3 separate regions of the Homo sapiens genome follow, and all the other regions are linked to region 3. The links are contacts of gene promoters, found by promoter capture Hi-C in human tissues and cell types (Jung and others, 2019). All regions are on one chromosome and are shown on one strand. Each heading gives the region's core, a stretch centred on a gene start or on the middle of the fragment in contact. The rest is flanking DNA. Distances are from core to core; before and after follow the strand shown.

What was found. The method cuts DNA at HindIII sites, captures the fragments that hold promoters and counts their contacts. A contact is called where the count stands out against the background at its distance.
Region 1: a contact is called between a fragment that was not itself captured here and the fragment with the promoter of SOX13 in region 3, in 1 of the 25 tissues and cell types used here (dorsolateral prefrontal cortex).
Region 2: a contact is called between a fragment that was not itself captured here and the fragment with the promoter of SOX13 in region 3, in 1 of the 25 tissues and cell types used here (IMR-90 fibroblasts).

What each region holds. Positions count from the first base shown.
Region 1 is chr1:203,847,160-203,849,871 of GRCh38, forward strand. It overlaps ZBED6 (zinc finger BED-type containing 6), which reads left to right. Exons shown (of 17, transcript NM_001395895.1): 12 at 25-528; 13 at 1,172-1,248; 14 at 2,552-2,712. ZC3H11A (zinc finger CCCH-type containing 11A) reads left to right here. Exons shown (of 18, transcript NM_001376342.1): 13 at 25-528; 14 at 1,172-1,248; 15 at 2,552-2,712. Among named protein-coding and RNA genes, the nearest start is that of SNRPE, 13 kb to the right of the region's middle. The HindIII fragment of the contact is 5,303 bases long and covers 1-2,712 here.
Region 2 is chr1:203,926,246-203,929,186 of GRCh38, forward strand. No RefSeq gene overlaps it. Among named protein-coding and RNA genes, the nearest start is that of SNRPE, 66 kb to the left of the region's middle. The HindIII fragment of the contact is 9,626 bases long and covers 1-2,941 here.
Region 3 is chr1:204,071,749-204,074,460 of GRCh38, forward strand. SOX13 (SRY-box transcription factor 13) reads left to right here and starts at 1,367. Exons shown (of 14, transcript NM_005686.3): 1 at 1,367-1,963. RefSeq lists an enhancer at 2,046-2,712. The HindIII fragment of the contact is 26,498 bases long and covers 1-2,712 here.

The DNA of each region.
Region 1 (2,712 bases), core at 53-2,552, 220 kb before region 3:
CATGTTTTTCTCCTGTGAAAACAGATAAAGTTAATAAAGTTGGTGAGATCCATGTGAAGACATTAGAAGAAATTCTTCTTGAAAGAGCCAGTCAGAAACGTGGAGAATTGCAAACTAAACTCAAGACAGAAGGACCTTCAAAAACTGATGATTCTACTTCAGGAGCAAGAAGCTCCTCCACTATCCGTATCAAAACCTTCTCTGAGGTCCTGGCTGAAAAAAAACATCGGCAGCAGGAAGCAGAGAGACAAAAAAGCAAAAAGGATACAACTTGCATCAAGCTAAAGATTGATAGTGAAATTAAAAAAACAGTAGTTTTGCCACCCATTGTTGCCAGCAGAGGACAATCAGAGGAGCCTGCAGGTAAAACAAAGTCTATGCAGGAGGTGCACATCAAGACGCTGGAAGAAATTAAACTGGAGAAGGCACTGAGGGTGCAGCAGAGCTCTGAGAGCAGCACCAGCTCCCCGTCTCAACACGAGGCCACTCCAGGGGCAAGGCGGCTGCTGCGAATCACCAAAAGAACAGGTAACAAGAGAACTTGGTCTCTAGTACCACGTCCCCACATAATATTCCAGAGGAGTGTTCCGTGGGATCTTCCTAGGAGTTGTTTGACAACCTTTCTTTACTCAGATAACGTTGAAAACACTGAATTAAATGAAGTTTTTCAGTAGTGCTATGTAGACCTATGCTATTTTGTTTTATTTTATTTTTGAGACAGAGTCTCACTCTGTCACCCAGGCTGCAGTGCAGTGGCATGACCTTGGCTCACTGTAGCCTCCACCTCCTAGGTTCAAGTGATTCTCCTGCCTCAGCCTCCCAAGTAGCTGGGGCTACAGACATGTGCCACCACACCCCGCTAATTTTTGTATTTTTAATAGAGATGGGGTTTCAGCATGTTGGCCAGGCTGGTCTCAAACTCCTCACCTCAAGTGTGATCTGCTTGCTTCAGTCTCCCAAAGTGCTGGGGTTACAGGTGTGAGCCACCATGCCCGGCCAACCTTTGCTATTTTAATGTGTATTTTGAGACTTTAGGAGCACAGATGGGCTTTATCTGTAATTTTATTTGTCCTGTCTTACTACTTTCATTAAATAAAGTTTTGTTTAACATATCTATCATGAAGTTGCAGCTTAAATAAAATAACTAATGATGTCTTTAATGTGAATACAGGGATGAAAGAAGAGAAGAACCTTCAGGAAGGAAATGAAGTTGATTCTCAGAGCAGTATTAGAACAGAAGCTAAAGAGGTAAATTTAAGATTATTGTATGGTTTTGTTCATGGCAAACAAAGGCTAGATAATTGGTAGTTTTACCTTACAATAAATTTCTAAGTACTTCATTCATATATTAGGTAAACAGTCTTTCTTTTTACTTATAATTTCTTATGAGAATTTCCTGTAGTTCTATGTATATCAGTATTCGCTGCCCTTTTAAAGTTTTTTGTTTGCCGGGCGCGGTGGCTCACGCCTGTAATCCCAGCACTTTGGGAGGCTGAGGCGGGCGGATCACGAGGTCAGGAGATTGAGACCGTCCTGGCTAACACGGTGAAACCCCGTCTCTACTAAAAATACAAAAAATAAAGTTTTTTGTTTAATTGGCCATTACTTTTTTTTAACTGAGTTTTTTCTAATGCTATGCATCATACAAAAGTTGGAAATTTTATTTTTTTTAAAACTGAACAAACCCTAAAAATATACAGCTCAGATGTAACCATCATTATCTTTTCCATGGATTTCTTCGAGCTTTTTCAGTCTTGCTCTGTTGCCCAGGCTGGAGTGCAGTGGCATGATCTCGGTTCACTGCAACCTTTGCCTCCTGGGTTCAAGCGATTCTTGTGCCTCAGCCTCCCATGTAGCTGGGATCAAAGGCATGCACCACCAAGCCTGACTAATTTTTGTATTTTTAGTAGAGACAGAGTTTCTCCATGTTGTCCAGAGTGGTCTCGAACTTCTGGCTTCAAGTGATCTGCCTGCCTTGGCCTCCCAACGTGTTGGGATTACATGTGTGAGCCACCACACTTGGCCTTCTTCGACCTTTTTGTTTATATATGCATGCATGTGAATTTGTTTAATGTTAAACCCATGTTTAGAACATAATGGAGAACTCTACAGTGTATCATTTTACAGCCTGCTTTAACTTTACCATGTTAATAATTCTTCAAGAAGTTTGTTTTTACTGACCACATGATTCTCCATTATACAAATACAGTCTTTTTCTGGACATTCAGATTTTGTTTTACACAATTTAAAGTAATATATTTGTACATAAATCTTTGTGCAGGTATTTGATTATTTAGGAATCATTAGTATTTGACTTAGAGTCATGGTTGTCTAGCCTGTGGAATCTGGGTTTTTTATTATTCCATACATCTGTAATTCTAATCTTTCATCTTTAACAGGGTATTGTCTATTTAACATCAAATAAAGAGCTTTTCTCTCAGATTCTGGATCATGTGAGATTCTGCTTAACTTAGATGTTAGCCTGGTACTTACATCATACAGGTTATTAGAGGTACCAGATTTTAATTCTGTCATTCAAATTTATCCACAGGCTTCAGGTGAGACCACAGGAGTTGACATCACTAAAATTCAAGTCAAGAGATGTGAGACCATGAGAGAGAAGCACATGCAGAAACAGCAGGAGAGGGAAAAATCAGTCTTGACACCTCTTCGGGGAGATGTAGCCTCTTGCAATACCCAAGTGGCAGAGAA
Region 2 (2,941 bases), core at 436-2,935, 150 kb before region 3:
GAGAATGATGAAACTTTGAGCAAGGTGACTCATTTCTAAGAAGAGATACGATAAAAGCCAACTATAGAAGCTAAAGAATGAAGTGCAGCCATGTATTGCTTAATGATGGGGATACTTTCTGAGAAGTGCATTGTTAGATGATTTTGTTGTTGTATGAACATCATAGAATATACTGGCATAAACCTAGATGGCATGGCCTACTACACATCTAGGCTGTGTGATATAGTTTATTGCTCCTAAGATACAAACCTACAGAATACTGTAGGCAGTTGTAATAGGATGGTATGTATTTGTGTATTTAAATGTATCTAAACATAGGAAAGTACAGTAAAAACATAGTATAAAAGATTAAAAATCGTATAGGGCACTTACCAAGAATGGAGCTTGCAGGATTGGAAGTTGCTCTGGGTGAGTCAGTGAGTGAGTGAGTGGTGAGTGAATGTGAAGGCCTAGGACATTACTGTACACTGCTGTAGACTTTGTAAACACTGCACACTAGGCTGGGCATGGTGGCTCACGCCTGTAATCCCAGCACTTTGGGAGGCTGAGGCAGGTGGATCACCTGAGGTCAGGAGTTCGAGACCAGCCTGGCCAACATGGTGAGACCTTATCGCTACTAAAAATACAAAACTTAGCCGGGTGTGGTGGCTCATACCTGTAGTCCCAGCTACTTGGAAGGCTGAGGCATGAGAATCGCTTGAACTCGGTCGGTGGAGGCTACAGTGAGCCGAGATCATGCCACTGCACTCTAGCCAGACAGAGAGAGTGACAGAGGGAGACTCTGTCTCAAAAAAATAAATAAATAAAAATAAACACTGCACACTTAGTCTACACTAAATGTATTTAAAATTTTTCTTTCTTCAATAATAAATTAACCTTAACCTACTATAACTTTTTTACTTTATAAAATTATTATTATTATTATTTTTCTGACACAGGGTTCCACTTTGTCCCCCAGGCTGGAGTGCAGTGGCGCTATCTCAGGTCACTGTAGCCTCCCAGTTTCATGTGATCCTCCCACCTCAGCCTTCCTAGTAGCTGGGACTATAGGCATGCACCACCATGCCCAGCTAATTTTTGTATTTTTTTGTAGAGACAGGGTTTCACCATGTTGCCCAGGCTGGTCTTGAACTCCTAAGCTCAAGCGATCTGCCTGCCTTGGCCTCCCAAAGTGCTGGGATTATAGGCATGAACCACCACACCCAGCCTGAAAATTTCCTTTTCTTTTTTTTTTTTTTTTACTTTTTGACTCTTTCATATTAACACTTTACTTAAAACACAAACATATTATACACCTACACGAAAAATTTCTTCTTTATATCTTTATTCTATATGCTTTTTTCTATTTAAATGTTTTCTTTTTAAACATTTTTGTTAACAATGAAGACAGAAGCACACATATTGGCCTAGGCCTACACAGGATCGGGGTCATTTGTATCACTGTCTTCCCTTCCACATCTTGTCCTCCTGGAAGGTCTCCAGTTGCCACAATATGCCTGGAGCTGTCACCTCCAATGATACCAATGCCTCCTTCTGGAATTCCTCCTGAAGGACCTGCCTGAGACTGTTTTACAGTTAACTTTTTAAATATATAAATAGAAGGGGTACATTCTAAAATAACAATAAAAAGTATAGTATAGTATGTACATAAACCAGTAACATACTTATTTATCAATATCAAGTTTTTTTTATTATCAGTATTACGTATTCTCACTTATAGGTGAGAGCTAAACAATGGCTACATAGAGATATAGACAGCGGAATAACAGATATTGGAGACTCCATAAGGTAGAAAATGGGAGGGGGGTGAGGGATAAAATCCTACCTATTGTGCACAATGTATACTGTTTGTGGGATGGGTACACTAAAAGCCCAGATTTCCCCGCTATACAATATATCTATGTAAAACAACTGTACATGCACCCCTAAATATTTGAAAATAATAAGACAAAATAAAACATATTATGTACTGTACATAATTGTATGTGCTATGACTGGCAGCACAATAGATTGGTTTAGCCCAGCGTTACCACAGACATAAGAGTAATGCATTGTGCTATGACAACGGCTACAATGTGATGAGGGCCACCATGTCACTAGGTGATAGGGATTTTTCAGCTCCGTTCTAATCTTATGGAACCACCATGGTACATGGGGTCTGTCATTACCAAAATGTCATTATATGACTGTATATACTTTGGAAAAACCATTATTCTATTGTGGCTTTGAAATATGACATTTTGGCCAGGTGCAGTGGCTCACACCTATAATCCTAGCACTTTGGAAGGCCAAGGTGGGAGGATCACTTGAGGTCAGGAGTTTGAGACCCACCTGGCCAACATGGTGAAACCCCATCTCTAGTAAAAATACAAAAATTAGCTGGGCGTGGTGGTGCATGCCTGTAGTCCCAGCTATTTGGGAGGCTGAGGCAGGAGAATTGCTTGAATCTGGGAGGGGAAGTTTGCAGTGAGCTGAAATCATGCCACTGCACTCGAGCCTGGGTGACAGAGTGAGACTCTGTCTCAAAAAAAAAAAAAAAAAAGACATATGGCATTGTAAAAAATTGTAAAATTATCTTATAGCAAAGAGGGGCAATATATAAAGAAACTGAGACCCAGAGTGCTAAGTGACTTTGCCCAAAGTCACTAAATGAGAGAAAAATTTGATTCCCAGTGTCTTACATGTCTCTCAGATAAGGTTCTTAGCATGTTAAGTTGCAAGAAACAGAAATCAACTATGGCAGATTTAAACAGAAATGAAATTTATTTGGTGAATACATCTACCTAATGTATATTTACAGAGTGCTCACTAGGTACTATGTACTCTTTTAGGCACTGGGGATATGGCAGAAAGCAAATGGACAAAGTCCCTACTCTCAGGGAGCTTACATCCTAGTGGTGGAGACAGACAAACAAATGCATACACATATGCAGTTGAAGAA
Region 3 (2,712 bases), core at 117-2,616:
CATATCCCAGTGTCTTTGGTGGCCCTGTGCCCATTTGCCTGCCCTATCTTAGCCCTCTCCACTTCACTGCAATGGTATATTCACCCATTCCTTTACAAAATCAGAATCCAGAAAGGGCAGGACACCGTCTCATTTGTCTTCGTGTCCCCAGCACCCCGGTAAGCCAGGCATAGGTAGACTTTTTTTTTTTTTTTTTTTTGAGACAGAGTCTTACTCTGTCACCCAGGCTAGAGTGCAGTGGTGCGATCTCCACTCACTGCAACCTCTGCCTCCTGGGTTCAAGCAATTCTTCTGCCTCAGCCTCTTGAGTAGTTGGAATTACAGGCATGCACCACCACACCCGGCTAATTTTTGTATTTTTAGTAGAGAGGGGTTTTCACCATGTTGGCCAGGCTGGTCTCGAACTCCCAACCTCAGGTGATCTGCTGCCTTGGCCTCCCAAAGTGCTGGGATTACAGGCGTGAGCCACTGCGCCCGGTCATATGTAGACATTTGATAAATACGTTGAATGAAAGGAAACCAACTCTCCATTCTCCCCCACCCTCCCATATAATGGGACAGGAGAAAATAAGATTTATTTGAGAGGCTGCAAATGACAGGATTAGGGAGTGGTTGGAGATATCAGGAATCCGTCTAGCTACAGGTGAGATCAGGTTTTGTTTTTTTTGAGACGGAGTCTCGCCCTGTCGCCCAGGCAGGAGTGAGTGCAATGGCGCGATCTCGGCCCACTGCAACCTCCCACTCCCGGGTTCAAGCGATTCTCCTGCCTCAGCCTCCCGAGTAGGGGGTTACAGGCGCGCCACCACGCCCGGCTAATTTTTTGTATTTTTAGTAGAGACGGGGTTTCACCGTGTTAGCCAGGATTGTCTCCATCTCCTGACCTCGTGATCCGCCCCCGTCGGCCTCCCAAAGTGCTGGGATTACAGGCGTGAGCCACCGCGCCCGGCAGAGATCAGGTTCTTAAGGGAAGTCCGGAGAAATGGGGTTTTTAAAAAACCCGAGTCCAGGCTATCTGTTTGGAGGGGTTGGGAGGCTTGGAGCTGGACCAATAACTTCTTAGGTCTTGCTTTAAGGAGTGAAGATTCTCTGTAGCGACCCTCATACCTGGGCAGTGGGAGCGGGCAGAATCCTTCTTTCTTCTCTTCTCTACACCCCCTCACTCCACCCCCACCCTTCCCCGCCGCCCGTAAACCTTAGCTTTCCCCTTTCCAACAGAGGTTTCCAGCTGTTGATGCCTGGATGGACCCGGCTGCAGGGAGGAGGAGGAAACTCTCTGTCCCTCCCTTCTTCTGCAAGTCCCCACCCTCCCTCCCTCCTCCCCCTGCGCGCTCTCGGTCTCCCTCCCTCTTTCTCCTCTAGGCTGTCCAGTCGCCTCGCAGCAGCGAGCCGCGAGCGCCCTTCTCCAGTCCCGGCTTGGAACTGAACTGTGTGAGCACGGGTCCTGGAACCCGGGCCCAGAACCGGCGAGCCCAGGTCTGAGCCCAGAGCTCAGCGGTCAGCCTCGTAGGCCCTGACTCGGAATCGAGCCGAGGCGCTGAGGTTGGAGCCGGAGAGCGTGAGAGCCGAAGAGCAGGGAGGGCGGGCCGGCTGCGCGTCCGACGAGTCGCAGAGCAGGACCGCGGAAGGCAGGGAGACGGCCGCAAGCCCAGGGCAGAGGGCAGAGGGCAGAGAGCGGCCTGGCTCGGCGGAGAGGGCGCCGCCCGGCCGGAACCAAGCTCGCCGCCCGGGACGGCGGGCCCCGTGGGGCGCGGACCCAGGGTGGCCGTGGGTCCGCAGCGACTCCCCGGCCGACGGCGGGGGGCGTGCCCCCTCCCAGCCCAGCCTCCCCAACCCGGCCCGCCCGCCGCGTCGCGGGGGCATGTGAGCGGGAAGCCTAGGCTGCCAGCCGCGAGGACCGCACGGAGGAGGAGCAGGAGCGCGGAGCCGCGAGCCCCGAGCCCCGAGCCCGGCGCCTGGCTGAGTAGTAAGTGCACCCCTCCCCGCCATGATCGCGCCGTCGCGCCCATTTCCCCAGCTCTCTGAAGTTTGACACTTGCGCCCCTACGTTTCTGGGCACCCACCGGCTCTCTTCCCTGCGAGTTTCCACCCTGTGCAAAGTTTTTCGAGGAGAGACGGACCCTCACCTACCCCCAACAACGCTGGGCAGTGGCGGCTCCTCCCTGGCCGACTTGGGTCCTTGTGGAGAGGGATGGCAGCCTCTAAGGCAGTGCGTGGCTGTGTGTGTGTTTGTGTGTGTGTGTGTGTGTGTGTGTACGCGCGCGCGCGCGCGCGTTCACCACGCGGGTCGAGCTTAGGGTGCACCCCCAACCCGCTCCTCGCCGACCGCAGAGGACTAGGTCTTTCTCATCAGCCCGACTATGCGCCTAGTTTAAGGATTTCTCAGCGGGAAGCCGAAGCGACCTGCGCGCGTCCTGCGTGGGGCTCAGGTGCCTGCGACGAGGCGCAGAGCTCCTCCACCATGGTTGCGTGGGGTGCTGGGGGACAGACGCGCTCCCCTTGCCACGGTTTCAGGGTCGTTCCCCAGCGGACCAGACCAGCGCGGCATCCTGTTTGTTTTCTGCTCCGGCTGCTCCTGTCCCACCCCCACCCCCACCGCAGGCTGCTTCTTGCTACCCCCACCTCCCGCCCTGGGATATCGTAGGTGAGCCTTTTCATCCCGATTCCGCTGCAAACGCTGATCGCGCCTAGGGGTAGGGAGATGCGGAGCGGGTA